4 separate regions of the Homo sapiens genome follow, and all the other regions are linked to region 1. Evidence: promoter capture Hi-C in 16 types of primary human blood cells and fetal thymus (Javierre and others, 2016). All regions are on one chromosome and are shown on one strand. Each heading gives the region's core, a stretch centred on a gene start or on the middle of the fragment in contact. The rest is flanking DNA. Distances are from core to core; before and after follow the strand shown.

Region 1 (5,006 bases), core at 2,360-4,859:
ATAAAAGTATGCATGATAAATGGAATGGAAATATTCGCTTCAAAGGGAAAAGAGATGAAAGCAAATATTTTCAATGCTAGAAAAGAGCCTGCGTACATAAGTTTGAAATGGATGAGATATCAAGCTATCATGATAGTTAGATTCCTTTGTGTATATACATTAAAATGTCAATACTTAAAACTTCCTGGCAAGTGGATCATTTGCAGCTATTTAAACTTATATGAAATTTAGATGCTAACCTAGAAATGTATCAAGAAATACATTTTGCAAATTACTTTCGAGAATGCATGAAGAAATGTGTTTGAAGATCACTGTACCACTCTACGAAGAGATTGTAAATTTTGAATGGGATACGGGACCATCTAATATATGCACAGAATGAGTGTGCCAATGGCAATTTGTATATTAACAAGAAATACTAATAAGGCCAGGCGCGGTGGCTCACACCTGTCATCCCAGCACTTTGGGAGGCCAAGGTGGGTGGATCACTTGAGGTCAGGAGTTGGAGACCAGCCTGGCCAGCATGGTGAAACCGCGTCTCTGCTAAAAATACAAAAATTAGCTGGGCATGGGGACGGGTGCCTGTAATCCCAGCTACTTGGGAGGCTGAGGCAGGAGAATCGCTTGAACCTGGGGGGTGGAGGTTACAATGAGCCAAGATTCTGTCACTGCACTCCAGTCTGGGTAACAGCATGAGACCTTGTCTCAAAATAATAATAATAATCAGAGTAGCTGATACCTAGAGTAATTGTCCTATGCCAAGTGCAATTCTCAGCATTTTACTTTAGTCCTCAAACAATGGCACCATGAAGGAGGAACTATAAAGGTCCCTATTTCACAGACGACAGAACTGAGACACAACAACACAGCTCACTGGTGACAAGGCTGGAAACGAGACCTGGCGTTAACCCCTTGGCTGTTTGATTAGTAATTATTCTTATTTTTTAAATAAAAAGTCATTCTGATGGCTTCTTCCAACACACGAATGGGCCCCTGGGCCACCAGGGTGTGGCTGCCCTGCTTTGCAGACCAGTGTTCTGGAGTTCCGGCTCTAAAAATGTGGTGTATGAGTCACCCAGCCTCAGAATCCCTTGGGGTATCTGTTAAAATGCAGGTGTCTGGGCCCTGCCATGGGCCTATAGAATCACAGTCTCTGGCGGATGGCACCAGAGTCTGCATTTTGTCAGCATCTGGGCTGGTTCTGATGTGCTTGAGGTTGCAGGGGGGCTGCTGAACAGGATGCACGCTCGCCTCTGGCACCTGCCCTCTGTCCACCCCGGCCCCGCCCCCTCTGTCCACCCTAGCATGAGCCCTCCGTCCACGTTTGGACACCTTCCTACCTCAGCCTCCATTCCATCTACTTTTGGCAAAAATCTCTTAAGAATCAAAAAACAAGAGTTTTATCCTCTCCGTATCCTCAGCCGGCAAGGTAGATAATTATCCCGTTATACAGATGAGAAAATGAGGATGACTTGCTGATGTCACACAGCTAGAGCAGAGCCTCCGGAGAGGAAACCTGTTGGTATCTTGATTTTAGCCCTGTGAGACCCAAGTTGAACTTCTAACCCAGAGACCTTCTAGCTTTGAGCACTACATTTATGGTCACTTTCTTTTTTTTTCTTTTTGAGATGGATTTTCCTTCTTTTCGCCCCGGCTGGAGTGCAATGGCGCAATCTCGGCTAACTGCAACCTCCGCCTCCCAGGTTCAAGCGATTGTCCCGTTTCAGCCTCCCGAGTACCTGAGATTACAGGCATCTGCCACCACTCCCAGCTAATTTTTGTATTTTCAGTAGACATGAGGTTTCACCATATTGGTCAGGTTGGTCTTGAACTCCTGAACTCAGGTGATCCACCCGCCTCGGCCTCCCAAAGTGCTGGGATTACAGGCGTGAGCCACGGCGCCCAGCCCCTGTGCATCTCTTTTGCCCTATGGCTGACTCTCAATCCTCCCCACCCGGTTGACAGTCATCTCTGCAACTCTCCCTCTTTTCCACTTGCAACTTCCAACCTCCCCAAGTGCTGAGCACTCCAAGTAGTCTTTCTAATCCTCTCCCTGCTTTCTCTTAGCTGTCCATTATGTAGATAAACTTAAATTTTCTGCTTACTTTATGTCACTTCCTACAGCCACAATAGGAAAGTCTGATGCCAACGTTGGCTACTCTCTTCATTACTGGGTTCTATTGACTCGCCTTTAACCGCTGAGCTTCCACTGGGAGTTATGTGCCTGTTTCTGACTTCTTCACTATATGGTGTCTCTAATCTCCATCCTCTGCAGCTTCTACTGCAGGGCCTCTGCCCTGGCTGTTCCCTCTACCTAGAAAGCTCTTCCACCAGATATCTGAATAGCTTACTCCTTCATGCCTTACGGGCTTTTGCTCAAGTATCATCCAATTTAAAGTTAAAATCACCCACCACTGCTGCATGCTCCTAATCCTAGGCATTTTTCCTAGGCATTAATTTTTCCTATGGCATTTACCACTATGTGGCATACTATATATTTTACTATTTACTTGTTTCTTGTAAAATGCATTAGGGAAAGGATATTTATTTTGTTTTTTAAATTTTTATTAATTTTTTTTTTTGAGACAGAGTCTCGCTCTGTCACCTAGACTGGAGTGCAGGGGCGTGATCTCACTGCAACCGTCGCCTCCCAGGTTCGAGAGATTCTCATGACTCGACCTCCCAAGCAGCTGGGATTACAGATGCCCACGATGATGCCCGACTAATTTTTGTATTTTTAGTAGAGATGGGAGTTTCACCATCTCTATCCTATGTGTGATACTGTCCTATCGTGTGATTTCATGTGTCATGTACACTAGATGCCAGATTTGTTAACAGAGGTCGATAGTGCTAAGACTTTCTATTACCGTGTTGCAGTGATGATGAAAAGGAAGAAGTATACCTGTTGTGTGTTCATAAGGGAAATATTTTTAGTGTTTCACAACTAAAATCCCTAAATCAATCTGGAGCAGAAAAAAAATCATCCATTTCTCCAGTTCAGAAAGATGCAGTATTTTGAGCACTTGTTAATGAAATTTCCAGAAACAGAAGGGATTGTTGCCATTTTTCTGATGTCCTGGAGGGTGTAACAAATGAGGAACTTTACCAATCAGCTTCAAGATGAGGAATTTAAGACATTTGGCATCATCACAAGTCACAGGTCATCAGAAAAAGACAGGTTTAGAAGACTCGTTACACACATACTCCCAGATGTGCAGGTTAAATTCCAGAAGCTGAATAATAACTGAAATATTTGTGCAAATGTATATGTCAACTTCCCAGTTCCAAATACCATTCCAGTTTTTAGAACCATAAAGTTCTTCCCAGTTATAAATTTTGCATAATTTAAATATTTTATATTTTCACGATTGTCCTAATTCTTTGACAGTAGGGGTCATTGTCTTAAGTTGTTGACAAGCGCCTCATAACGGGTATTCAAAAATTTCTTTCAAGTAAAATATTTATAAAGTTCACTTTATGCTTATAAACTGCTGCGTTGCCCTAGACCGCCCGCACAAGCCCTTGGAGCACAACTTGGTCAGCGCAGAATTTGGTTCCTATCAGCTTCCGTAGCGTCCCTAACGACTTCCGCCTCTGGCGGGCCGCAGTGGTGGAGGAACTTCCGGCAGCGGCAGCTCAAGTGGCCAAGGCAAGATGGTGAGTGACTAAGGGTTTCTTTCCGCTGGTCGTCGCGGTGCGATGGGGTCTCAGCAGCCTGAGGCGAGAGAAAGAGGCGGCTGCCCGAGGAACTGGGACAGCCCTCTTCTCCTTTTGCCGGCCTGATCTTCTCGGCGGGTGGAGGCTCCCAGAGACCGCGCTCATGTCCACCGCGGGCCGGGGCCGACCAACGGGCCTTGCCCGGGGATCCTGGGGCCGGGGCTCAGAGCAGAGAGAGGGTCTCCTGCGTGGTCTTGTGGGGCGGCAGAACGGATCAGGCCGCTGGCTTTGCTGCTCCGCCGACCAGGGCTTTGCTGATCGGCGCTGGGAGTTTCGGGGGCGCCTCCTCGAGTCACCGGGAAAAATGCTTTTTGAGTCGGGCAGGTGAAGGGTGCTGGAGAAGAGGGTGGGATTCATTCCACCTGAGGAGTTGAGCGCGGAGTCGTGGAAGGCCTTTCGGAGCTGGGGGCATTTGAAGGAGGCCTTAAAGACGTTGTTATGACAGGCGGAGCTAAGACGGAAAGGGCCCGTGGTGCAGTAGTAATAATAAAAACAGCTAGCATTTATTCATCAATTCACTAAACAAGTATTTACTGAGCACTTGGTGTTTTGTTGTTGTTGTTAAACTTTTGGCTAGCTTCTGTTGTAGACACTGAGGATTGATTGAAGTCCCTGCCTTCATAGTGCGTACATTCTAGAGCAGAAGGCAGACAATCATCAGAAATATGTAATATGATGTCAGGGGTGGGGTGGTCATTGTTGTATGGTTATTGTATAGAAAGGGATAGCTTGGAGGAGTGGCTGCTTTTTATAGAGTCAGCGAAGGTAGCTCTGAGGAGGTGAAATTTGAGCGGACCGAAATTGAGGGAGTAACCCCTGCAGATGTCTGAGGGAAATGTGGTCAAGGCAGAAGATACAGCAAGTGCAAAGGACCTGAGATGGGAATGTTTAACCTGTATCATGAACGGCAAGAAGGCCAGATCTCATAGAGGTCTTTTTTATTTTAATTTTAATTTTTATTTTTTTGAGACGGAGTCTTGGTCTGTCGTCCAGGCTGGAGTGCAGTGGCGCGATCTCCGCCTCCCGGGTTCAAGCGATTCTCCTGCCTTAGCCTTCCAAGTAGCTGCGACTATAGGCGCCCGCCACTACGCCCGGCTAATTTTTGTATTTTTGTAGAGACGGCGTTTCACTCTGTTGGCCAGGCTGGTCCTGAACTCCTGACCTTATGATCCGCCCGCCTCGGCCTCCCAAAGTGTTGGGATTACAGGCGTGAGCCACCGCGCCCGGCCTCATAGAGGTCTTATACGGATTTCTGGGTAGTATTCTAAGCATGTACCAAGTACTTTTCC
Region 2 (5,006 bases), core at 1,524-4,023, 310 kb before region 1:
AACTGTGAGTCAATTAAACCTCTTTATAAATTACTCAGTCTCAGGTAGTTCTTTATAGCAGTGTGAAAATGGACTAATACAGAGGATAATCATAATATCATAGTTACATTAAATATAACAATCATCACAGATGAATGTGCTCATCACAGATCTGCATGATAACTGTTCAGGAAATGATTGCTGCAATTATCTATAATAATAATAAATACTGTAAAAGGATTTTGCCAAGTATTTATTATTTTATTATTCCTCTATATCATTTTGTGATTCTTCTCTGAAGCCTAGGTTCCTCATTTTAAAATAAGGACAGATGACTGTTTTCCAGGTCTCTTCTAGTTGCAAGCTTCTTCATTCTATACACTTGGAAAAGTTATGAAGTGCATCACAGAGAATGAGGGTTATAATGAAACCCTCTGAAAGAGGTAGCAAGACTATAAATCAGAACCAACCTCAACTGTGATCTGCCGCTTCCTTTAACTAATGGCTTGATTTTTTTCTCCCACTCATATATTTCCTTGTTTCAAGCAGCCACAACAGTTTTTGCTTATATTCACTTGCTTGTTAGGTTACAGGCAATAAAAACATCATTAGCACCTTTCTGCTACTCACCCTGGCTGCCCTCAAATTCTCCCAGCATGTACACTTCTTCCAGATACTTTACTCTTATTTCTACTAGCTTTGACTTAACTTTTCACTCTTCTTAATTTTCACGAGGAAATCTCTATTGAAATGACCTACTTTTCAAGAGGATTCGAAGCCCTTGGGAAGCAGGGCCTGGGCATCCAGGTTTAGGTATAATCCCGAACCCAAAGTGCAGGGTGTCTAGCTTCCGGACTCTGGCCCTTCCTAAAAGCAGCTGAGTCTGGGCCAACCTAGAATGTGAGTCTGACCTTGCCCTGCAAGCTGGGCAGCAACTGGGCCCTGCAAAAGAATCCTGTGGATGGTGTGTTAGAGCCCTGTTCCGAAGTAAGAAGAACAATGGATAGCAGAGAATTCCCAAGTCACAGCTGTATTATACAGAACAACTTTGGAAAGTTGATTACCTGAATAAATAGTTCCCAGGAGGCCAAGGCCAGCATTTCAGACCTGTTTTTTTTTTTTTTTTGAAACAGGGTCTCGCTCTGTCACCTAGGCTGGCGTGCAGTGGCGTGATCATGGCTCACAGCAGTCTCAACCTCCTGGGCTCAAGCAATCCTCTACCTCAGCCCCCTGAGTAGCTGGGACTGGCATGTACCATCAGGCCTGGCTCATTTTTGTATTTTTTGTAGAGATGGGGTTTCGCCATGTTGCTCTCGCTGGTCTCAAACTCCTGGGCTCAAGTGATCCACCCACCTTGGCCTCCCAAATTGCATGGGACTACAGGCGTGAGCTACCACACCCCGCCAATTTCAGTTCTTCAAGATCCAAACATTAAGAAGAGAGATAATATATGTGGAAAAACATTTAATCTGCACATGTGCTCTCTTCCTTCAAGAGAAATAGCATGTAAAATTGACTCGTATCAATAAGAGGGAAAGAAGAAAAAGTGGATGGTTTGAAATTGGTTCAGTATTGAACAATTCTAATAGAAAAATTGCATGTTAGCAGCAATCAGAGTACAGCAGTGATTTCTTGCTAGGCTATTTTACTCCTTTTCTTGAATGTTTGTGGTCTTGAGTTTCTCCAAATAAACACACACACACACACACATACATACACACTCACACTAGAGTACAGCTGGGAGAATACAGGTGGGGACTGTATTCTTTCTTCCAGAATCCATACCTCTCTGCACATTAGAGAACTAGTTAAGGAAAGAAAACATTCAGTGTGAAGTCAAATCCTTAATTCAAAATCAGAGAACATACAGAAGAAAGAAAGTCTATGAGAATAATGAATGTTAAAATGCCTTCAGCAATAGTCACACTTGATGTATCAGAAAAGCCACTGTATTAATCTTTTCTCATGCTGCTGATAAAGATGAGACTGGACGATTTACAAAAGAAAGAGGTTTAATGGACTTACAGTTCCACACGGCTGGGGAGCCCCCACGATCATAGCGGAAGGCAAAGAGGAGCAAGTCATGTCTTACATGAATGACAGCAGACAAGAGAGAGCTTGTGCTGGGGAACTTCTCTTTTTAAAACCATCAAATCTCGTGAGACTTATTCACTATCACAAGAACAGCCTGGGAAAGACCTGCCCCCATTATTCAATTATCTCCCACTGGGTCCCTCCCACAACACGTGGGAATTATGGGAGTTACAAAATGAGATTTGGGTGGGGACACAGCCAATCCATATCAGTAACATAATAGAGAAACACGATATTATGACTAGGGTAAGATCTTCATCCAGAAAGAATAACTCACTGAATATCAGGGAACTCTTAAGAAAGAGAAATCCTATCAATGCAAAGAATGTGGGAAATCCTTTTGCCAGAAAACAAAACTCTCTGTAGATTGGAATATTCACAAAAAACCCTAATGAAAAAAATGTAGAAAAGGCTTTATCAAGAAGTTGTAACTAATGGAACATCAAACATTATTCTGAATATTTTGAAAGTGAAAATTTTCAACAAGAAATTTAAAACCTGGAGCAATTCTATCAAGTTAGCGATTATATCAAGAACATGTTCTCCTAGCAATAATCCTGAAAGTCTTATTTTAAATGTGATTCTAAACCTTGTACATAAAGTGTATTAGATTTTAATACAATATTAATAAATCTAATAAAATATTAGATTTTATTAGATCTAATAATAAATCTAATAAAATATTAGATTTTATTAGATCTAATAATAAATCTAATAAAATATTAGATTTTATTAGATCTAATAATAAATCTAATAAAATATTAGATTTTATTAGATCTAATAATAAATCTAATAAAATATTAGATTTTATTAGATCTAATAATAAATCTAATAAAATATTAGATTTTAAATCTAAATGTTAGTAATCCCTGCTCTCTTTTCCCCCCCCACTCAGTGTGGGTAGTAGTTTCTCATTTTTATTGATTACCTCAACAAAATCAGCTTTTAATTTTTTCTTGTTTGTCCTCTTTTCAATTTCAACAATTTCCATTCCAATCTTTACTATTTCCTTTCCTCCACTTATTTCGGGCCTTATTTACTCTTTTTTGTAGTTAAAGGTAGAAGATAATTAAAGGTAGAAGCTGAGGTCATCAGTTTGACACCTTTATTCTTTCCTAAACATAGAAAGTTAGTGCTACCACTTTCCAAGTATTGCTTTCAATCCATCCTACAAAATTTGAAATGTGGTCTTTTCATTCAATTCAAAATACTTCCTAATTTTTCCCTTTTGATTTTTTCTTTGACCTATGAGTTATTTAGAAGTGTGCTATTTGTTTGGAACTTTTAAACTTTTACTTGGAACAACTATTTGCAACTTTTCCAGACAGCTTTGCTATTGATTTCTAATGTCGTTCCATCACAAAGAACATACTTTGTACTTTAAATGTATTGACATGTTTAATGGCCCAGAGTATGACCAATTTTATTAAATATACTGTGTAGACTTGAAAAGAATGTGTATTCTGCTTTTGTTGGGTAGAACATTCTATAGATTACAATTAGGTCACACTGGTTGACAGTGCTGTTCACGTCTCCTATATCCTTATTGATTTTATGTCTACTTGCTTAATTATTGATAGGGGTGTTGCAACCTCCTACCATCATTATGGATTTGTCCATTTTTCTTTACAGTTTTATTAGTTTTTTGCTTCATGTATTTTGAATTTCCATTATTAGGGGATTTTTTTTTTTTATTTTTTTTTTTGAGACAGAGTCTTGCTCTGTCACCCAGGCTGGAGTGCCGTGATGCAATCTGGGCTCACTGCAACCTCCACCTCCTGGGCTCAAATGATTCTCGTGCCTCAGCCCCCCGAGTAGCTGGGATTACAGGCATGCACCACCATGTCCAGCTAATTTTTTTGTATTTTTTCGTAAAGACGGGGTTTCATCATGGTTGGTCTCAAACTCCTGGCCTCAAGTGATTCGTCTGCGTTGGCCTCTCAAAGTGCTGGGATTACAGGCTTGAGTCATGGCACCTGGCCAGGGGCATAAATGTTTAATTCCCTTAATGAACTGGCTCTCCTTATCCCTGGTAATATTTCTTCTTCTGAAGTCTACTTCATCTGATATTAACATGCTCACTTTGGCATACTTTTGGTTAGTGTTCAGTACAGTATATATTTCTAATCTTTTTTGCCCTTATGTTTAAAGTGGGCTTCTAGGCAACACAGAGTTAGTTGGTACTCTTTTATCTAATTTAACAGTATCTCCCTTTCAATGGGGCTGTTGAGATCATTTACATCTAACTAAAACATTAATGATTGGATTTAAATCTACCATATTATTTTTCTACTTGTCTATTTCCATCTATTTTTTGTTCCCATTTTCTTCCTTCTGTTGAATTAATTAAGTTTTTTAAGAGATGAGGTCTCACTCTGTCGCCCAGGCTGGGGTGCTGTGGTATGATAATGGCTAAGTGCAACCTCAAACTCCTGGGCTCAAGGGATCCTGCCTCAGCCTCCCAGGTAGCTAAGATTACAGGCACGTGCCATCATGCCTGGCTTTTTTTTTTTTTTTGCTTTTTTGTCGATTCAGAGTCTCATACTATGTTGACCAGACTGGTCTTGAACTCCTGGCATCAAGCAATCCTCCTGCCTTGGCCTCCCAAAGTGCTTGGATTACAGGTGTGAGTCACCACTCCCAGCCAACTGCTGTCATTTTTATCTTTGTTCCTATTCATATGTGTCTTTTTTTTCCCTAGATACACTTATGATTTTTTAACATACTAAAAAAGGAAAGATACTATTAAGGATGTTATTAGATCAACTGACAAAATATAGATGATAAATCAGATAAAACAGTATCAACATATATTTATGAATATGATAAGCATATTTTGGTTATATTCATTACAGAAGAGAAGGGGATAGTGGTAGAAAGTGCAAAGGAGAAGGAAGATGGTGTAAAATGTTAACAATGTCAATCTGGGTAAA
Region 3 (5,006 bases), core at 1,744-4,243, 300 kb before region 1:
CGGTTTGTGAGTGAGTGAGCAAGCCTGGAGGCCCGGCTGGCTGTTCCAAGTGCTGGCCCAGTCACAGGCTCCATGTAGGGCTTGTGGATGGCCTGGGTGTATGGCAAGTGACTCTGGTAGCAGATTCTGGTGTCCAGACGAGGGGGATGCAGTAGTGCCCAAACACTTGGAGACACCAGGCAAATAGAGATGTATTAACAGCTCTTTTAGTCCCACCATCTGCAGCCCAATGAATGGGGGTGTGTGGCAGCCAGCAGCTCCCTCTCCCATTGCTTCACTAGCGGAACGGAGTGCTACAGGGTTATAGCTCTATTTGCACTCGCTGTTTAGCTGGTCCGAATTTCTTGTCCTGCGTCCAAGAATAATGAGGTTAGGCTGACAACCGAAGGGGAAAAGGGCGGAGGTGAGTTTTACTCAGTGATGAGACAGTTCTCAGCAGAGACGGGACCCCAAGTGGATGGCCCCTGCCCTGACCCCAAGGTGGGCAGTTCGCTGGTGTGACTGAGTCTGGGGCTTTTATGGGCTCAGAATGAGGGAGTGTGTGCTCCATGGTTTGTGAGTATGCAAAAAAGGCTAAAACAAAGGCACCACTCAAAGGTGGGCATGACAATGTAAAAAACCAATTAGGGAAGGGTAGATATATGTAAAGTAGGTGAAGGGTGGGGATTGATCAGAGGAAAGTGTGCCAAGTGGGAAGAGGGGTTATCAATCCGGTCCGTGGATTTACCCAACACTTGTAGCTTGGCTTTCAGGCTTTAAACTGTCTTTGGTTTGCAGGTGGGGTTTCACTGGGGCCCTGCCCCTATCTGCCTAGGGATTTGTCTGCCTCCTGCCGCTATCACATAGACTATCATATACTTAATATTTTTGTTTGAATCCAATCATTCTTTTACATAAAATAAACTTTATTTTGCTATTTCAAATATAACGTAGCCATAAGATACCTTCTGTTGATGGTAAACAAAATTGTTGGTGCCTGCAGAAGAGCCCAAACCCTGCTATTTGTTCAAAATCAAGATTAAAAGCATTTCTACAACACTACAACTTTCTTCTTGATTTAAACAGGGAGTTTGGATTGGAATGGAAAGGGAAGTACTTTCATAATGTCAGGTCCCAATCACTTCCACTTCAGGAAACACTGTGCCGTTCTGATTGAGTGCCAGGATTCAGAATCAACACAGCTATATTGTATTCTGATTCTTTCAGTACCACTTACAAAAAGTGTGACTTCAGATTTATGCTGTACCAAGCACTGCCCAGGCAGGGAAGACAGATGATAAACAATTGAAGGAAAGCTCTCAGGTTCTACATTTCTTAAAACTGTATGACTTGATTACAAAGCACTCTGAAATGCTGGGCACCAGAGCCTCTATGAGGGAAGTAAATTCTGTTACTGGTGACCAGTTATCCAAAGTAAAAGTTTGATATTGGTGTTTACTAGCAGTTCTTTTCCAACTGGGCGGGAGCCTTGATGTCATAAAGAGGTTGGTAAGCTGCTACATTTAACAACAAGACACAATTTTATTAGTCTGTTGCACTAAATTGTAACCCAATAAATTGTATTAGGTTGTAATAAGCAACTCAGGCATATTTTTGAGTTTCAGCAGGTCCAAAACTTTATAGAGCAGAACCCCAAAAAAAGGCTTTGTTCTCTAGAAAATGTCTTTTTTAAAGCTTTGTTTTATTTTTTATCCTCTTGTCCTACTTTGTTGGAGGGAATTCCACTTCCATATGGTTTTAGAAAATGGAGATAATGATAAAACTTAAAAACCTTTGAAATTCTCTAAATAATTCACAGAGTTGCTAAGGATTTTACCTTAGCAACTCTTAGTACATAATAATGTACTTAGCACAGAATTCTCAGTGTTTGGAAATTCCATTTTATTTATATAATGCAGGCAACCATATTTGTTATGGTAGCCTCTTAAGATTCTGCAACTGCTTCTGAGAGTGGAAGCTGAATCCTTTCTCACCAAAAACTAAGACCTGCTACTTACTTTAGAATGGGCAAGGTATCTATAGAGAACAGCCTGAGGACTGTAATGGAAGATTCTATTACTCACCGCCTTGGTTTAGAACTGTTGTAGAATTCAAAGGAACCTAGAGCTGACATTCAGAGAGTGGTTTTTCCTAAGGTGGTTCTTTTGTTCCTAGATAACTTTAAAGTCACGAAACTGTAGCCACTGAAATAGTTTCTTCAAAGTGTATTGTAACAGCTTAAATACCCCTATCCAGCAACTTCTAGACTCTAGAACACTAGAGGAACCTAAGGTTTTGTGGGTTTTTTTTTCAAACCGGAAGGATTAAAAACATTTAAAAAACCACCTCTGAGCTGCTTAAGTAGGTGTTGAGTAGTAAATCAATCTGAATCTCTTTCATGGAGGAAACTGGGCACTCAGACCCCTTTAACCATGACAATACAGTTCTACAAACCCAGTTATCTAGTTTCTTAACCCTTAGCAGATTAGAAACAATTTAGGGAAAATATACCTATGCTATGAGTTTTAACAACCCCTTGAAGTGGGCTGGACAGAGTGTAGAAATAAATAGAAACTTTTAGAAAGCAGATATGAGGGCTCAAAAGAGCCAGACAGTCTAGGGTCACTATTACAGGAGCAAGTGGCCCCAGCCCTCTCTACAGTCAATAAGGCTTTGGCTGTGAGATAGTGTGTTCATGCTGGGTAGGGTAATAATGACCCAGAGCCATGAAGAATGGGCCAGATTATTGTCTTGATGCATTCTTGCATAAAAGTTCCTTGAAATGTGTAATTTACAGAAGGCTTGCTTAACTTGACTGGTAGTTAATTGAAAAAGGTGAAGAGAGAAATTGTGAAAAGGGATAGATACCTTTAAAGTATTTCCAACCCTCCCCTGCCCCGCCCTGCTGTGTTCACTGAAAAAATCATGAGATCTATACATTTAGAAAGGAGAGCTTAGTTCTTATAAAGGGCTACAGCCTGCAGTGTGGCCTGACAGGCTGGGAAGCACAGCCTCAGGCAGAGACCTTTAATGGCATCCCAGGGAGGAGAGGGTAGAACAGAGATTTATACTGAATGGGTTGGCCAAGTATAGTATTCAACAGGTGTGGGAGGAGCTATGAATATTCACCAAGGGGGGACACGTGTGCATGTGTAATGAGCAAACGTGTGTTTTGTGCATCTCGTGTTCACTTTGGGATGGAGACTTAACATTTGAATGAATTACAATTAGGCCCTCTGTCAAAAGGTGAAGGAGAGACATGAAGGCACTCAGTGCTCAGCCTCTGAGGACTGGTCAGAACCAGTCTGTGGTTTCTTTTCAGGAGAAAGTTACTCCATTGTCCAATGACAGCTGCAGTCATGGCCTGTGGAACCAGAGGGGTCAGTTAGTCAAGCATCTGGCAGTAGGTGAGCTGCAATTGTTTAGATATTCCTTATCTCTAGGCCAGTGCTTATTTAGCTGCTGAAGAAAAAAGAACCTTGTGGAAGGTAGAACATAGTTTAAAGGTAGCAGTGTGTGATTTAACCCTTGCTTGGCATGGCCTTAGGTCTTGTTTATGATTTAGTGTCATATTGTCACAGAATCTATTCTGCCAGTCTTACGATCTCTGGTCAGTTGTGTTTAAACCGCAGAAGGGAGGGGATATAACAGGCATGTCTGAGCTCCCATCTCATCATGGCCCGGAACTCAGTTTTTAAGGTTTCTCTGGGGTCCCCTTAGCCAAGATTTTTATTTTTAGTTCTCATCTAGAGACATATGCATATGTATTGATTTGCAAATCTTTTGATGTAGAATAATGTTGAATTCTCTTTTTTGGGGAATGTAGGTTTTGTGAAGGGAGTGTCACCATCTTGGTTTACTCCACTCAATGCATCTTTTCCAGCCTCATTAAAACAGCAGAAACTCGAAGATACTGTTGATCTGAGCACAGACTACTGAGTTTTGTAATTTTCCCCTGGGTCTTGTGCTAAAATGTTAAAAGTATCACATTGAGGAACTGTTCTTTAGCTGTCTGGAAAGTCTACTTAGATAGTCCTTTACCACTGAATTGACAAGATTTGGTAGGTAACAGCAAAAGTGACTGTTTCGTGTACTTTCCTGTTCTCAGAACAAGAAAGTAGAATTTGACTGTGGGGCTTAAAAAATAAAAGTGTGTTGCTTCAGTACAAGTTATTTCTGTGTAGGTGTTAGTAGATTTATGATGTAGCCAATAGGATAATTATATCTTGATATAATTATATCCAACTAATTATAATTAGTTGGGTCCTCATGGAAGTAGTGTAAATAATGTACATACCTAAGTGGTCATTTGGCTTTCCTCTTGAAGACTTTGTTAAGCTTTATGGTAAATGGGTTGTCTTTTGGGAAGTAAGACATACATAATCACTGAAGTCCTGTGGGTGCCTGTACTTGGGTGAAGGCTAGGTTTGTAAATTCCAATTTGACCTTAAGCATTTGAACATAGATTAAATGGACCTTAATCCCAAACGCTTATTGGAAGTTTCGGGGTCAAGAATGAATGTTTGTTTTATTTTGGCATTTGTCTTGATGCATTCTTCAACCCCCTTTCCTAGGACATCTAAGAACAAAGTTTAGATTGAAAGCCAAGGCCAGGCATGGTGGCTTATACTTGTAATCCCAGCACTTTGGAAGGCCAAGGTGGGTGGATCTCTTGAGTCCAGGAGTTCAAGGCCAGCCTGGGCAACAATAATGAAACCCTGTCTCTACCAAAAAAAAAGAAAAAAAAAATTAGCCAGACGTGATGGCGTGCACCTGTAGTTCCAGCTATTCGAGAGGATGAGGCAGGAGGATTGCTTGAGCCCAGGAGGCAGATGTTGCAGTCAGCTGAGATTGAACCACTGCACCACTCCAGCTGGGTGACAGAGCGAGACCCTGTTTCAAAAAAAAAAAGGAAGAAAAAAGAAAGGTGACCAGGACTTTTGCTTGTGATTTGGCAGAATCTGATAGTGGATTCTGGTAATGTGCTTATAAACACCCAAAAAGCAGCTGATGTTAGGTGGTTCAGC
Region 4 (5,006 bases), core at 664-3,163, 270 kb before region 1:
TTTAACCTCAACCTCCTGGGCTCAGGTGATCCTCCCACCTCAGCCTTCTGGGTAACTGGGACTGCAGGCACGTACCACCACACTTGGCTAACTGTCTTTATTTTTTGTAGAGACAAGGTTTTGCCTAGTTGCCAAGTGATCCGCCTGCCTCAGCCTCCCAAAGTGCTGAGATTACAGGCATGAACCACCGTGCCTGGCCCCAAGTTACATCTTAGTTTGAGCTGAAATAGCTTTCCAGTTTCCTTCAACAGGTCTTGCTTCAACCTGAGTGCACTGCGCAGGACAAATGTAATCTCCCTCCCTTAAAGCAGTCCTTCAGAGTTTGAAAGGGAGTCTTGTTTCTGAGCCTTACATCTCTTGTTCCCTCCCCACTCCCTTGCCCCACCATAGCATGTGGCTTTGAGACCCCTAGCTGTAATTCCTGGTCGCTTTTCTATAAACATGTTATAATTTTTCAGTATCCCACTGAAAATATGCTTTTCAAAATGAAGTGTGGCTCTGACTGGTCCAGGGTTGAGGGGATAGCTGCTTGGTCTCTAAGTCTCAGCTGTAGCACTTTCTTGATCTACTGAATTTATGGTTAACTATGCCTTTGGTACCCCAAGAGCTTCTAAGCCAGTTCTCCTGAGCTGCCAGATTGGGTTTGGGGATTCATGTGGCCCTATCAAAAGGCAATGAGATTAATGTAGCTTGTTCTCATGAAACAATGTTACTAAAGGGATTTCTCAGGTTAGCTCTCAGCCTCACGTGGTTCCAAGAATCCCACCCTGGGCCTCCAGCTCCTTCTGAAGTTGGAAGCTTAGCTTACAGGCAGTAGTACTGTCTTGGGATTCTCTGGGGTGGTTGCCAGGAGGGAAGAGGCAGGGATAAGGGCTTGGGTGTTTCTTTTATTTAAAAAAAGTATTTTTTAATTTAAAATTTTGGAAAACTTATTGACTAGGTAGGAACGGTTCAAAACTCAGAAAGTACCAAGACTATGAAATCTTCCTCTGGCAGCCATCCTGGTGTGGGATCCTATTATTTCATGCTTGGCCTATATTCTACTCTCTAATGTTTTGCATTTCATGTTATTTGTGGTAATTTTAAAACTTTTGAAAGCAGTTTTTGTATACAATCTCACTTCATAATTGGTCTACTGTGGTTCTGCTAATCCCCTTCAGCTGCCTCATGATCCACCTGTTGATTTCTCACTTTTTAAAATTAGAACAAGAGTTGCATCCAAAGCTCACAGTAAAGAATAAAATAAAATTATTTGGCTCATTATAATAATTTTCTCATTTTGTGATGTGTTAAAAATGCCTCATATCTCAGCATCTTAGTTTAGAAAGTCATTTGTCTTGTTTCTCATCCAGAACTCACCTGTGAGTGAATCTCTGATCCAGGAGGAGCCTCACTCAGCCTGGGAACTTTGAGGTGCTATTGCAAGGGGAGGTCCTCCACGTCTGTCCAGCCCAACCTGGTCATTTTACACACGGAGGCAAAGGCCCAGAGAGATCACAGAGCTTACCCAAAATGGTATAGTCAGCTAGTCGATCTGGGTCCAGAACATGGGCTCCAGCCCTCATCACACCATGCTACCTCCTGTGCTAAGTGTCTCCCCAGGGTGGGAAGCAGGGGTATGAAATGCCCCTTGCTAGAAACTTGCAGAGTTGAGAAGATGTACGGCCGAGAGTCCTTGCAGTTCTGGATGCCTTCTGCCCTGGTGGCCTGCATCTTGCCAGTCTCCTTCAGGGGCTGCCAGGTGAAAGAGAAATTGGGCAGTTTCTCTTTCAGCTTAATAGATAGAACCCAGGGTGGGGAAAAGGAGAGTAGCCACAGAAGGGGAAAAAAGTAACACCTGATACTTTTGACTGCTCCTGTAAGTCATTGCTTTGCAACAGCCCAGTGAGGCAGCCTTGTTAACCCCACTTTTTTGCATTTGAAGAAACTGAAGCACAAGAGGTTTGAAGCCATTTTAGTAATCTACTGTGGAGCAGTTTATAGAAGGATTGGGATTAGATATGATTGTTTTCTATTTATGGATATAATGTAGAAGTTTTGGCAAAGAGCATTGTTTTCCTCTAGGGAAAAAGAATTAATGAAATGAAAGATGTCTGTAATGCTTCTTCAGTGAATTAAGTGTTGAAAGTTTGAGGTTATTGTAATGTCACTGAATGTGATATATACTTAATCCAGGCACCAGAAAGTATAAGACATAAAAATATGCTGCTATAGGACCTACGTTATGAAAATGGGTTTGTTAATTGAAAATAGATTTTTCACATGCACTTTTGGTATAGATAACACAATTCTTATTTCACATTTGGCTGAAGAGCTGCATTGATGCAGACAAGGGCAAATTCTTGCTTGGGATTACCACTAGTAGCATGGATTTGCTTTAACCGTTAAGAGTAGAATTCTTAACTCTTGTCATCAAGTCTTAGAAAGCAATATATAGGTGCAGAGGTAAGAGGAGCAATAAGGAAGGTTTGGCAAGTGAGAGGGAGCATGGAGGGATGTGGGTTGGAAGAGGTGGGCAGAGCCCAGGTCTTACTGAATCTTAAATTCATGGCAAGACATTCAGGAATAATTCTGAATGTGATGAGAAACCATTGGAGTGGTGTTCTCAGATTTATGTTTCATGTTTCCTAAGATTACTTACCATGTGGAGATACCGAGAATTCACCTCTTTCTTAGGATGAAGGCATAATCGATACAGAGATCATTATGATCAGTTGTGTGCCTGACTGTTAAAGGTTATTTTTTTAATTCCAGAATATGGTTGAGCCCCTTATACCCACGAATTGCTGATGGAACCCACAAATCTGGAGAGTCGCCAACACATTTTAAAGCTGATCTCATCAGTTACTTGATGGCTTATAATGCCCCTTCTCTCAAGGAGTGGATAGATGTCATTCACAAGCACGATCTCTCTGAAACAAAGTATGTGTCAGCTTATCAATTTGGGGTGCTTATGATAGGCTTATACCTTGGGAGCCTCATGAGGTCTGGCATGCAGGGGCCTGGAAAGAGGTGGGGTGAAATCTAGCCAAGCTTCAGGATGTGATGAGGGGATGAGCAGATTCTATCACATCTGTATCTTGTGGTTCTCAGGCATTAAAGTGACAGCCAGTGAATCCTCATGTTTACCTTAGCCTCCCACTGGGTTACTCTCACAATTATTGAGTTCTTTGTCTGGTACTTTACATCTTGTAGGCATTCCATCATTAGTTGATTTGCTTGAAAATGAATTTGAGAGTCAATTCAAGAAAATGGATTGGCTCTTAGATCATTTCTTGATTATATTAGTTTTCATGTGTATTTTGTCATTTTTTTTGGTGCCCAAAGCACATCACTATATTTTATAACTTGTGTTTTTATGTCTTTTTAGTGTTTATCTTATTGGTTCAACCCCAGGACGCTTTCAAGGAAGTCAAAAAGATAATTGGGGACATTTTAGACTTAAGAAGGTAACAGAACTTTTACTATTTTAACATTTTTAAAAAATTTAATGTATATTCTCTCTTTTAAAATAATTATATATTTTGATGCAGCTTCACAATATTTCTGCACAATTCTGGGCAAATAGATACTTGATAAATTGATAATTATAATTCTTAGTAATTACTGCTTTTTAATGTGTTTTGCCTCTTTTATAGCTGTAGGCTGTTAATGGCATAAATATATAGACCTTTTCTAGTTTTTATATTGTAATAAAGATAGAGGCTTCCTATTCATACACATACTGTAGCTTTGATTATAGCTTTTGATTGTTCAGCATATCAAGTTTTAAGATATAAATTCAACAAACAGAAAATGTTGAGTAAAGACTACAACTGAGCTATAATATATTTTGATTATTAAACCAGTGCCCTTAAGAAAACAAATTCAAAAATAATACTTGCTGCTGATATGAAAATGCACGAAGAAAGGTCATAAAATAAGTTGAAGATTAAAGTTTTTTTCATCTCTTTTTAGGTGGTTTACTGACCTTAATAAATTCCCTGGCCAGGTGTGGTGGCTCACGCCTGTAATCCCAGCATTTTGGGAGGCTGAGAGGGGCGGATCACAAGGTTAGGAGTTCAAGACCAGCCTGGCCAACGTGGTGAAACCCTGTCTCTACTAAAAATACAAAAATTAGCCGGGCATGATGGCAGGCACCTGTAATCCCAGCTACTCGGGAGGCTGAGGCAGGAGAATCGCTTGAACCCGGGAGGCGGAGATTGCAGTGAGCTGAGACCACACCATTGCACTCCAACCTGGGCAACAGAGCGAGACTCCGTCTCAAAAAAATAAATAAATTCCCTAAAGTGGCTTTCTTAAAAGCCTTAACCTCTTATTCCATAAACTATTTAAAGTCTAAGAATTTTCCCTTGGTTAATGAAACTTTTTATTTTAATTTCCTTTTATGAAATGAGACCACAGCTTAAAGCAGGCAAGATCTTGAAGACATCTTTATGTCTTGGCCTAGAGAGGAAGTTCAGCACATTGGCCTGTGCCCAGTCTTGGAGGCAGATATCCATAGCTGGGTTCAAACCCTGCTTTGTTATCTACAAGCCGTGTGACCTCGACTTGTTCCTTAACATACATCGGTTGTCATCTATAAAGTGGACATAATAATAGTACTTCCCTCCCGTGATTGTGAGGATTAAATGAAATGATGAATGTAAAATAGTACAGGGCACACAGTAAGTCTTCAGTGCACATACACAGTTGTTTGTGGACAAATGTCTAATGGTTTAGATAGGCTAGATAATAGCACGTATTATGTGTGATCACCATCTGATACTGAAAGTTCAACTGTATGTTAAGAGTTTTCAAACCACTTTTTACACACAGTTGCTCATGTTGCACCACAGCTTTCTTCCAGGAAGGCCGGCCGGTGATTAGGTGCCTGTTTCCACTGAAGTGTAAATCTAAGCCAGAGGCTTGTCCAGGATAGGGTGGCCCTTCAGGGGCTGAGCACTGCAGTAGAAACTGGGTGTTGTAAGTTGTCGGTTCAGCTCTGTTTCCTACACCATGCTGTA

The links. The method cuts DNA at HindIII sites, captures the fragments that hold promoters and counts their contacts. A CHiCAGO score of 5 or more calls a contact.
Region 2: a contact is called between a fragment that was not itself captured here and the fragment with the promoter of PSMC1 in region 1, in 1 of 17 cell types (monocytes). The highest score is 5.6, in monocytes.
Region 3: a contact is called between a fragment that was not itself captured here and the fragment with the promoter of PSMC1 in region 1, in 11 of 17 cell types (M2 macrophages, M1 macrophages, monocytes and 8 more). The highest score is 12.6, in M2 macrophages.
Region 4: a contact is called between a fragment that was not itself captured here and the fragment with the promoter of PSMC1 in region 1, in 1 of 17 cell types (M2 macrophages). The highest score is 5.3, in M2 macrophages.

The regions. Positions count from the first base shown.
Region 1 is chr14:90,252,944-90,257,949 of GRCh38, forward strand. It overlaps PSMC1 (proteasome 26S subunit, ATPase 1), which reads left to right and starts at 3,610. Exons shown (of 11, transcript NM_002802.3): 1 at 3,610-3,657. The coding sequence starts at 3,655. RefSeq lists enhancers at 3,256-3,785, 3,661-3,900, 3,786-4,313. The HindIII fragment of the contact is 16,889 bases long and covers 1-5,006 here.
Region 2 is chr14:89,942,159-89,947,164 of GRCh38, forward strand. All of the region lies in intron 3 of EFCAB11 (EF-hand calcium binding domain 11), which reads right to left. Among named protein-coding and RNA genes, the nearest start is that of EFCAB11, 10 kb to the right of the region's middle. The HindIII fragment of the contact is 4,864 bases long and covers 342-5,006 here.
Region 3 is chr14:89,957,995-89,963,000 of GRCh38, forward strand. All of the region lies in intron 2 of TDP1 (tyrosyl-DNA phosphodiesterase 1), which reads left to right. Among named protein-coding and RNA genes, the nearest start is that of TDP1, 4.6 kb to the left of the region's middle. RefSeq lists enhancers at 1-499, 4,882-5,006. The HindIII fragment of the contact is 2,643 bases long and covers 1,673-4,315 here.
Region 4 is chr14:89,981,762-89,986,767 of GRCh38, forward strand. It overlaps TDP1 (tyrosyl-DNA phosphodiesterase 1), which reads left to right. Exons shown (of 17, transcript NM_018319.4): 9 at 2,755-2,922; 10 at 3,371-3,449. Among named protein-coding and RNA genes, the nearest start is that of TDP1, 28 kb to the left of the region's middle. The HindIII fragment of the contact is 2,235 bases long and covers 797-3,031 here.